2 separate regions of the Homo sapiens genome follow, and region 1 is linked to region 2. The links are contacts of gene promoters, found by promoter capture Hi-C in human tissues and cell types (Jung and others, 2019). All regions are on one chromosome and are shown on one strand. The core of a region is centred on a gene start or on the middle of the fragment in contact, and the rest is flanking DNA. Distances in the headings are between cores, read along the strand shown. Region 1 overlaps PAFAH1B1 (platelet activating factor acetylhydrolase 1b regulatory subunit 1). Region 2 holds the start of METTL16 (methyltransferase 16, RNA N6-adenosine).

Region 1 (4,699 bases), core at 1,440-3,939, 130 kb after region 2:
ATAGTGGGGGTTTTTTTCTGATTAAAGCAGGGAGTTTTGCCCTACCTCGTTTTCACTCTATATAATTGAGCCAGGCATGGTGGCTCATGCTTGTAATCCTAGGACTTTGGGAGGCCAAGCCAGGAGGATTGCTTCAGTTCAGAAATTTGAGACCAGCCTGGGCAACGTGGCAAAACCCTGTCTCTACAAAAATAGAAAAATACAAAAAAAAAAAAAAAAAAAATTAGCTGGGGTTGGTGGCACATGCCTGTATTCTTAGCTACTCAAGAGGCTGAGCCCAGCTTGGTTGAGGCTGCAATGAACCATGATTATGCTGCCACTGTACGCCAGCCTGGACAACAAAATAAGACCCCATCTCAAAAAAGAAACAGTATGAAGAAAAGTGAGACTTGAATAATTGGGAGTTGTTAAGTACCAAAGAAGTATGGTTTACTGGCTTGTCTGTTGTGTTTGGTTCCAGTTCCACTAGTTCTTACTGATTCCAACCATATTTCTCAGAATTTAGATGGAGTGATAGTGATGGCTTTCAGCTATCATTTGTAGTTAGCTGGGCTCCAGGTCAGAAGAATCCTTAAGGATTATAAAATAAATTCCTGCTTATATTTACTAGAATTGTTCTTCAGATAAGGATCTCTAATGAAATAGCAGTTGCCATAGCGAGCACCTGAGCTGTCACTTTTTCACTCAGGGCTCATGTTCGTTTTTCGTTTGTTTGTTTTTGAGACGGACTCTTCCTCTGTTGCCCAGACTGGAGTACAGTAGCATGTTGGCTCACTGCAACCTCTGTCTCCCAGGTTCAAGCAATTTCTCGCAAATTTTTGTATTTTTAGTAGAGACGAGATTTCACCGTGTTGGCCAGGCTGGTCGCAAACTCCTCACCTCAAGTGGTCTGCCCACCTCAGCCTCCCAAAGTGCTAGGTTTGCAGACATAAGCCACCACGCCTGGCCTCAGGGCTCATATTTGAAACCCGAAGGTATGCATTTTTTTTTCCTTTAAAAGAAATTGGGTCTCGCTTTGTCACCTAGGCTGGAGTGCAATGGCATGATCGTAGCTTTCCATAACCTTGAACTCTTGGGTAGCAAGCATTCCTCCTGCCTTAGCTTCTCAAGTAAGCATGCACCATCACACCTACCTAATTTTTAAAATTTTCTGTAGAGACGGGGTCTCCTGTGTTTCCCAGGCTGGTCTTGAACTCCTGGGCTCAAGTGATCCTCTTGCCTTAACCTCCCAAAGTACTAGGATTAATTACATATGTGAGCCACCACACCCCGCCTCTCATTCTTCTTTCTTCACTGGCTTATTCATTACTGTATTCTCAGTGCCTGGAGCAGTGACTGGAATGGCATTTGAAAGGTACTCAGGAAATGGTCCTTAACTCTTCTGTCCATGATAGGTTTCTAGATTGGTTGTCCCACAGGATCTTCATTATATGTTAATTTCATATCATTTGGAGGATGATTTTTTTATTGCTTTGAATTGCCTCTTCCAATCAAATTTTATATATACCAGTAGCCTCTATTTTAAGTAAGACCATCTCAAATACATTTCTTAATTAGGTACATTGGTTAAGAGAGCATAAGATTCCAGCACTTTGGGAGACTGAGGCAGGAGGATCCCATGAATACAGGAGTTTGAGACCAGCAATGTAGGGAGACCTGTCTCTACAAAAAAAAAATTTAAGAATTAGCTGGGCATGGTGGTGTGTGCCTGTCGTCCCAGCTGCTTGGGAAGCTGAGGTGGGAGGATCGCTTAAGCCCAGAGGGGGAAGGCTGCAATAAGCTGTGATCATGCCACTGCACTCCAACCTGTGTGAGAACCTGTCTCCAAAAAAACAATAAAAAGCGTAAGATTGCTAAGTAGTGTATGTTATAAATACCGGCCATTCTAAGGTTATTGGTGACTAACACTCAACCTTGAAGGTTACTTCAGTTATAGTTGGCACTGTTCGGCTTGTGCAGTTCATGAAACCCTTATCTGTTTTACCTTTTATACCTTTTTTGTAAATTTGAAATTTTACTTTTTGTCTCTAAGAGAGAATTACATTCGTTTAGAGTTACATGTTAATATTTGAAATCAAATGTATCTGGCAGGTTAACATGATTGGGAGTGGGTAAATGTATGTTAAATTTAAAAGTAATGCTGTTTTGGCTCATTGAATTATTAATTTAAAAGACAAAACAGTATGGTTTTTGACATTAGTTGACTTTCACTATAAGTGGAAAATCATCATCTAATATTTATACTAACATCACAATAAAATTTATCTTTGAAAATGAGTACTGTAACTAATAATTTAGAAATAAATTTTAAGTGAAATAATCTTTTTTTTTCTTCTCTTTCTCCTTAGGTGGAATGAATCTTACTTGTTGAATATCTTCTGGTTACTAGTTGGATTCATTTGTGAAAGAATCATTTTCCCCTGTGTGGAAGACACTTAGTGGCATATTTAAATTATAAGTCCACGGATCAAAAAGCTTTTTGATTTCCCAAAGGAGGGACATACCACTATATCAGATAAGCTTGACATTACAGCCAAGATGGTGCTGTCCCAGAGACAACGAGATGAACTGTAAGTTTCTTTGTTTTGTGCTTTAAAAAAAATCTCCCTCATGAGAGAGAAAGTAGTAAATTAAAATACAGCTTTGGGAGGTCTCTTCTAAGATTAAAACTATTTTTACCAGTGTTCCAATATTAGTTTAGGCAGTTTGGTCTGATTTTAAAACAGTCTTATTATGATATAGCATTATTTTTAAAATTTATTTATTCTTTCTGAGAAGGAGTTTTTCGCTTTTGTCACCCAGGCTGGAGTGCAATGGCGCCATCTCGGCTCACTTCAACCTCCGCCTCCCAGGTTCAAGCTATTCTTCTGCCTCAGCCTCCCAAGTAGCTGGGATTACAGGCACCCGCTACCATGCCTAGCTAATTTTTGTATTTTTAGTAGAGATGGGCTTTCACCATCTTGTCCAGGCTGGTCTCGAACTCCTGACCTCAAGTGATCCACTCACCTCGGCCTCCCAAAGTGCTGGGATTACAGGCATGAGCCACTTTGCCCGGCCGTGATACAGCATTATTCACCCTTGTGACTTGACTGTATGTAAGTTTAACGCAAAACAGACAAGTCAGTTGGGATGAGTTTTACCCTAAGCTTATTTTTATTTTTATTTTTGAGATGGACTCTCGTTCTGTCACCCAGGCTGGAGTGCAGTGGCGCAATCTCGGCTCACTGCAAGCTCTGCCTCCTGGGTTCACGCCATTCTTCTGCCTCAACCTCCCGAGTAGCTGAGACTACAGGTGACCGTCAACACGCCTGGCTAAGTTTTGTATTTTTAGTAGAGATGGGGTTTCACCGTGTTAGCCAGGATGGTCTCAATCTCCTGACCTCGTGATCCGCCTGCCTCGGCCTCCCAAAGTGCTGGGATTACAGGCGTGAGCCACCGCGCCTGGCCCCTAAGCTTATCTTTTAAAATATTATGTTCAATAGGAAGTTAGGTGCTTCATAGCTCCTCTAAACCTTTTTTTGGTGTGGAATCTGTGCATTAGAAAAATGAAAGCTGTTTTGTTCTTGTTATCACTGATGTCTTTCCTTTGCCTTGTTGTGTTTCTTTTATCTTCCAATGGCCATTACAGAATTTGAAGAATTTGAACTTTATGAGGTAGCTAATAAAATAATTAATGCAGATGCTTTAATGAGAGAGGTGTGAAATGGTTTGACCTCTTCTGTTTTAGAGTATTTTATAGCATTCCATTTTTATAGGTGAAGAACATAGGGGGATTTTCCACTCCCCCGCTTCACCTGACTAGCTTTAAAAACATAAAAACAAAACGGGAAAATGTAGCTTTATGTTCTACTTCTTTTTTTTTTTGAGATGGAGTCTTGCTCTGTCGCCCAGGCTGGAGTGCAGTGGTGCAATCTCGGCTCACTGCAACCTCCGCTTCCAGGGTTCAACCAATTCTCTTGCCTCAGCCTCCCAAGTAGCTGGGATTACAGGCGCCTGCCACTGCGCCCAGCTAATTTTTGTATTTTTAGTAGAGAAAAGGGTTTCACCATCTTTGCCAGGCTGGTCTCTAACTCCTGACTTCGTGATCCTCCTGCTTTGGCCTCCCAAAGTGCTGGGATTACAGGCATGAGTATGTTCTATATTTTTACAATTAAAAAAAAAATTTTGTGGCTTTTCAACAATTTTTATTTGGAAGTAATTTCAAATTTATAAAGTTGCAAGATTAGCACAAAGCATACTAATGTTTTTTGAAATACACCCATTGTTAACATTTTGTACCATTTGCTTTATCATTTGCACTCTGTGTGTTGGGGGTCTGTGTGTGCAGTATGCAATAGGTTTTTCTTAAACCATGTTAGAGTAAGTTGCATATATCAAAGAAATACCTTTTCCCACAAATAAACTTAAGTAGTTCCCCAAAATAAGGATATTCTATAAAACCATAGTATAGCTAGCAGTTTTATTAAATTTAACCTTCCATATTCCAGTTTTATCAGTTGATTCCATAATGTCCTTTGTGGCACTTTGTTACTCTCGTACATCATCCCATCCAGGATCAGGTATTTCATTTAGCCCTCATGTGTCTTCAGTCACATTTAATCTGGAACAGTTCCTCAGCTTTTGTCTTTTTTTTTTTTTTTTGACCTTGATGTTTTTGAGGAATAGTCTTTGTTTTAAAATAGAGTATTTCTCATATTGT
Region 2 (5,204 bases), core at 30-2,529:
AATGAGTTCTTAGCTAAATATAACCTATTCTTCAGAGTTTAACTGGGCATCAATTCTTTTTTTTTTCTTCTTGTTGAGACAAGGTCTTCCATTCTGTTGCCCAGAGTGCAATGATGGAATCATAGCTCCCTGCAGCCTCCAACTCCTGAGATCAAGCAATCCTCCCGCCTGAGCCTCCCAAGCAGCTGGGACTACAGGTACAGAGCACTGCACCTGGTTAATTTACTTCATTTTTTGTAGAAAGGGAGTCTGGCTTTGCTACCCAGGCTCTAGCTTCAATTTTCTACACAGAATTTACCCATCTGGCATTCCATATATTTTACTTACTTTAAAAAATCTCCCGTCAGTAAGTTTCAAGAGGGTAAATATTTTGTCTGTCTTGTTCACCGCATATCCCAACGCCTAAAATAGGGCCTAAGAGAGTAGGCACTCAAGTATTTGTTGATTGAAACCACGATAGAACTCTTCCCTGTCTGGACCACCGACACAAAGCACCCTCACTGAGTTTCAAAAAAAGCTCAGCCCATGGACTGGAACTTTTCTTCCCGGTTACTTGAGTCAGTCCAGAAAGCCACAGTTAATAGTAGAACCCTGAGAATGAGGCTTTCCCTTTTTTTTTTTTTCTTTCTCATCTCCATGCTTCTGTTTCCTTGGTTCCTCTTGACCATTAACCCTCTTCAACTACCACTCTCTTGATACACAGCCTGTAAAACAGTCTAAATTCCAATTTCAGAACTTCAAATTCTTTCTGCACAGATCCCTCCCACTTCCACACCAATCTACATCTTCTCTCTTCGCCTTCTCTCATAAATCCGACGTTTCCCACTAGTCCTGCCACTGCCGTTCTTTCCATGCCCTCATTTTATCAGCTCAGTTTGTCTTCCCGCCTCAGTTTTGGATCTCTCTAAACCTCCTAAACACCGGGGAGTCTTTCCTACTTCAGTCCTAGTCTCTATTCTATTCGCCAACTCCTCCCACTCATCCACTCTCAACACCCCCGCGTGCGCACACACAGCCACATCAGGTCTCCCCTCCTAGACCCCGAAGTCGGCACCTCACTAGCCCAAAACTCAAGAATGAGGAACCCGTGTGATCCACGGGTTAAGTGACCCATGATAGTAAATCTGCGTGAGAGATATAAGTGACCCACCTCTGAGGCCGAGGTTCCTGCCAGACGTCGTGTCTGGCGTGGGCCTGTACAACCCTAGAATCTTAAAGCAGCCGCATAGCGAAGCTCCTAGAAACGCAGATGATACGCTCCCAGCGCGCCGCCATCTTGTGAAGCCATCTAGCCTCGTGATTGGACACATCCCTCTCGCGCGACCTGTGGCTGATCTTGAAGAAAGAAGAAACCCTCGCGACACCTGGGGTTTGCTGCTCCTAACAGAAGGCGCGGGGGCGTGGTGACGAGCGGAGTCCTTTGAGGTATGGCAGGAGGAGGACATGCGTTCGAATTCGCGAGAAAACTTATTTAAAAGAAAAAGAAACAAGTTTTCCGGGCCCTGCTGCAGACTTACCTCTCACACTCACTGGGATTGGGCAGGTTATGAAGATGAGGGTACGAGACTTGGGTGTGATGGCGTGCAGTGAGCCCTTTTTGTGCAACAGGTGTGTCCTCAGCCGATGTCTCACTCACTGAATTGTAAGAGATATAAGCCTGTGGGTTGGGGAAGAGTACTCTCGTTTACAGCGAAAGAACTGAGGATCCGGCCGGACGCGGCGGCTCACGCTTGTAATCCCAGCACTTTGGGAGGCTGAGGCGGGCAGATCACCTGAGGTCAGGAGTTCAAGACCAGCCTGGACAACATGGTGAAACCCCGTCTCTACTAAAAATACAAAAATTAGCCGGGCGTGGTGGCGGGCGCCTGTAATCCCAGCTACTCGGGAGGCTGAGGCAGGAGAATCGCTTGAATCCGGGAAGCGGAGGTTGCAGTGAGCCAAGATCGCACCACTGCACTCCAGCCTGAGCGAAAGAGCAAGACTCTGTCTCAAAAAAAAAAAAAAAAGGGGGGGCCTGCCTACGTCCTCGTCGTTAATGTGAACGCTTCTGGCAAACTATTACCATAAAATTGGGAGATAGTAAGGATTAAGGAATGGAGACTTATACACAAGTGAGTACCAGTAGTCACCCAAGGAAAGCTGAGGAGGTGTTTTCATAATCTGTTGTGTAACAAACCGCCCCAAAACGTAAGACTTAAAACAACCACCATTTTACTTGCTCACAGTTCTGCAATCTGGGCTGGGATTAGCCCACCCGTTCTGCTGGTCTTGCCAGTGGTCATAGCAACAAGTGGGGGCTGGTTCCGCTGAAAGAACTGGGTCTCTCTCCCTGTAGTCCAAGTTCTCTCCCTGTCCACGTGGCCTTTCCATGTAATTTGTCTAGCAGAGTAGGATGACATTTTTTTTTTCCCCCGAGATGGAGTTTCTTATTGCCCAGGCTGGAGTGCAATGGCGCCATCTCGGCTCACTGCATGCAACCTCTGCCTCCTGGGTTCAAGCGATTTTCTTGCCTCAGCCTCCCAAGTAGCTGAGTAGCTGAGATTACAGGCGCCCGCCACCATGCCCAGCTAATTTTTTGTATTTTTAGTAGAGACGGGGTTTCATCCTGTTGGCCAGGCTGGTCTCAAACTCCTGACCTCAGATGATCCACCCGCCTCGGCCTCCCAAAGTACTGAGATTACAGGCATGAGCCATCGTGCCCCGCCAGAATACTTCTTACATGTTGGCTCGGGGCTCCCAAAAGGGCAAAAGTGGAAGCTGCCAGGCCTTCTTAAAGCGTAGGTGCAGAACTAGCACCTTGGCTATATTCTTGGTTAAAGCAAGTAGAAGGGCTAGCCCCAATTCAAGGGGAGGGGACTATGCCAGGGTCCCTTCCAATACTGGAAGGCATGGTTCATTTCAGCAACCAATGTAACATATTACCACAGAAAGTTTTCCATCTTTGGTTGGTAGTGGCTTTGATACTAGTTATGGCATTTTATTTAGTGCATGCTGCTGGAAAGGTAAAAGAAAAGATGGCCTCGGAGATAGGACTGGTGGGGTTGAAGTGATTGTATTTAAGATATTGGTAACTTTCTGTTAGCTCCAAAGAGCAACCCAGTTTACCTGTAGGTCGGGCCAGAGAGACCCTAGTAGCACTGCAGCTGGGAAACCTGGCCTTTAATCCTGCCCCCACCATTTACTAACCCTGTGAGTATGGGCAATTTGCTTAAACACTTGAAGGCTTAGTTTGCTCAATATTACAAAATAGGATAATAATCTCATGGGGTTGTGAGAATTAAATCAGATAATGCATATAAAACAGCAGAATGTCTAGTATATAGTGAGTTCCTAATAATAATAATATTGTTCCTTATAACTTCTCTGGTCAGTTTTTTTTAAGTATTCCATAAAGATAAAACATTTTAATAACTGAAAATTTTTAAATAATTTAAATAATACATAAAGATATCAGAAAGACAAAAATTATCTAAAATCTCACCACTCACAGCCAAGCACCATCAAATTTGGGTAACCTTACTACTAAACCTCTATATCTCATAAGGATATATAACCAAATAATTTTTATACAAATAATAATATATATTTGTATATATATGTAATTACATATATATACACACACACACATGCACATATACTCAAATATAACTCTTGGAGATTCTTCCACTTCCAACAATATAGCTCTTTATTGTTCTTTGTGATAGGTGCACAGTATTCCATTGAATGCATATAACACTTTTTTTTTTTTTTTTGAGACAGAGTCTCTCTGTCGCCCAGGCTGGAGTGCAGTGGCGTGATCTCGGCTCACTGCAACCTCCACCTCCTAGGTTCAAGCGATTCTTCTGCCTCAGCCTCCCGAGTAGCTGGGATTACAGGTGCCCACCACCACGCCTGGCTAATTTTTTTGTATTTTTAGTAGAGACAGGGTTTCACCATGTTGGCCAGGTTGGTCTCGAACTCCTGACTTCGTGATCCACTCGCCTCGGCCTCCCAGAGGGCTGGGATTATAGGCCTGGGCCACCGCACCCAGCTGGATATACCACTTTTTAAAAAACTAATTCGTGCCCAGGTTGGGTTGGCCAGACCTATAATCCCAGCACTCTGAGAGGCGAAGGCAGGTGGGTCACTTGAGGTCAGGAGTTTGAGACCAGCCTGGCCAACATAGTCAAACCCCGTCTCCATTAAAAATACAAAAATTAGCTGGGCGTGGTGGCGGGCACCTGCAATCCCAGCTACTCGGGAGGCTGAGGCAGGAAAATCGCTTAAACCCGGGAGGCAGAGGTTGCAGTGAGCCGAGATCGCGCCATTGCACTCCAGCCTGGGCAACAGAGTAAGACTCCATCTCAAAAACAAACAAACAAACAAACAAACAAACAACAACAAAAAAAAAACTAATTCCCCTGTGGATGGACATAGGTTCTTTCCAATGTATCTGGTATGACCTATTCCCAAATATTGTGGTACAATGATAAATACATATCCTTGAAAACTTTTTTATATAAAATGAAAATTATCTGGAGACTCCACAGAATAGATTAACAACATCTGCCTTTTTCCAAATTTACCCTGAAATGTCCAAGGATGTAATTGGTCAGAGAAGTCTCTCAAACTTCCATACCACAGCAAGGACAGTGCAGATGTCCAATTAGCCAGTTACATCCTTTGCTACCTCTTTGTAGCAGGAAACTGATTCTGCACATCCAGTGAATAATGCTGCTAATTATGAAATGTTGCCTAGCAAGTTATCAGAGCTGCTTTCAGCATCAGCTGCCTACTGGACTGGAATCAATCCTTGAGGGCATCAGACTGGACTCCCTCTTGACTGAAATTAATTATTTCAAGGACTTTGTGGCCCTTCCCTGTCACTGTCCTTTGGCCACAGCCAGCCTGTCAACAGCCACAGGTCTCTCTAACTTTGTATTTCAGAAAGTAATCATTGAGTATCAATTTCTTCTAGCTTAGAAGACTCTAGCTTCCTTATGTAAATGTATCCACCTCCTTCTTAGGGACCAAGTTTACATATCAGGGATCTAATAGCCATTATAGTTGTCACAAAAGCTATATCCAGGCAGGTGCAGTGGCTTACACCTGTAATCCCAGCACTTTCGGAGGCTGAGGAGGGTGGATCACCTGTGGTCATGAGTTCTAGACTAGCCTGGCCAACATGATGAAACCCCGTCTCTATTAAAAATACAAAAAATTAG

What was found. The method cuts DNA at HindIII sites, captures the fragments that hold promoters and counts their contacts. A contact is called where the count stands out against the background at its distance.
Region 1: a contact is called between a fragment that was not itself captured here and the fragment with the promoter of METTL16 in region 2, in 2 of the 25 tissues and cell types used here (H1 embryonic stem cells and dorsolateral prefrontal cortex).

The regions. Positions count from the first base shown.
Region 1 is chr17:2,635,751-2,640,449 of GRCh38, forward strand. PAFAH1B1 (platelet activating factor acetylhydrolase 1b regulatory subunit 1) reads left to right here. Exons shown (of 11, transcript NM_000430.4): 2 at 2,349-2,570. The coding sequence starts at 2,539. Among named protein-coding and RNA genes, the nearest start is that of PAFAH1B1, 44 kb to the left of the region's middle. The HindIII fragment of the contact is 4,031 bases long and covers 675-4,699 here.
Region 2 is chr17:2,510,609-2,515,812 of GRCh38, forward strand. METTL16 (methyltransferase 16, RNA N6-adenosine) reads right to left here and starts at 1,280. Exons shown (of 10, transcript NM_024086.4): 1 at 1,151-1,280. RefSeq lists enhancers at 1,151-1,360, 1,431-1,480. The HindIII fragment of the contact is 24,606 bases long and covers 1-5,204 here.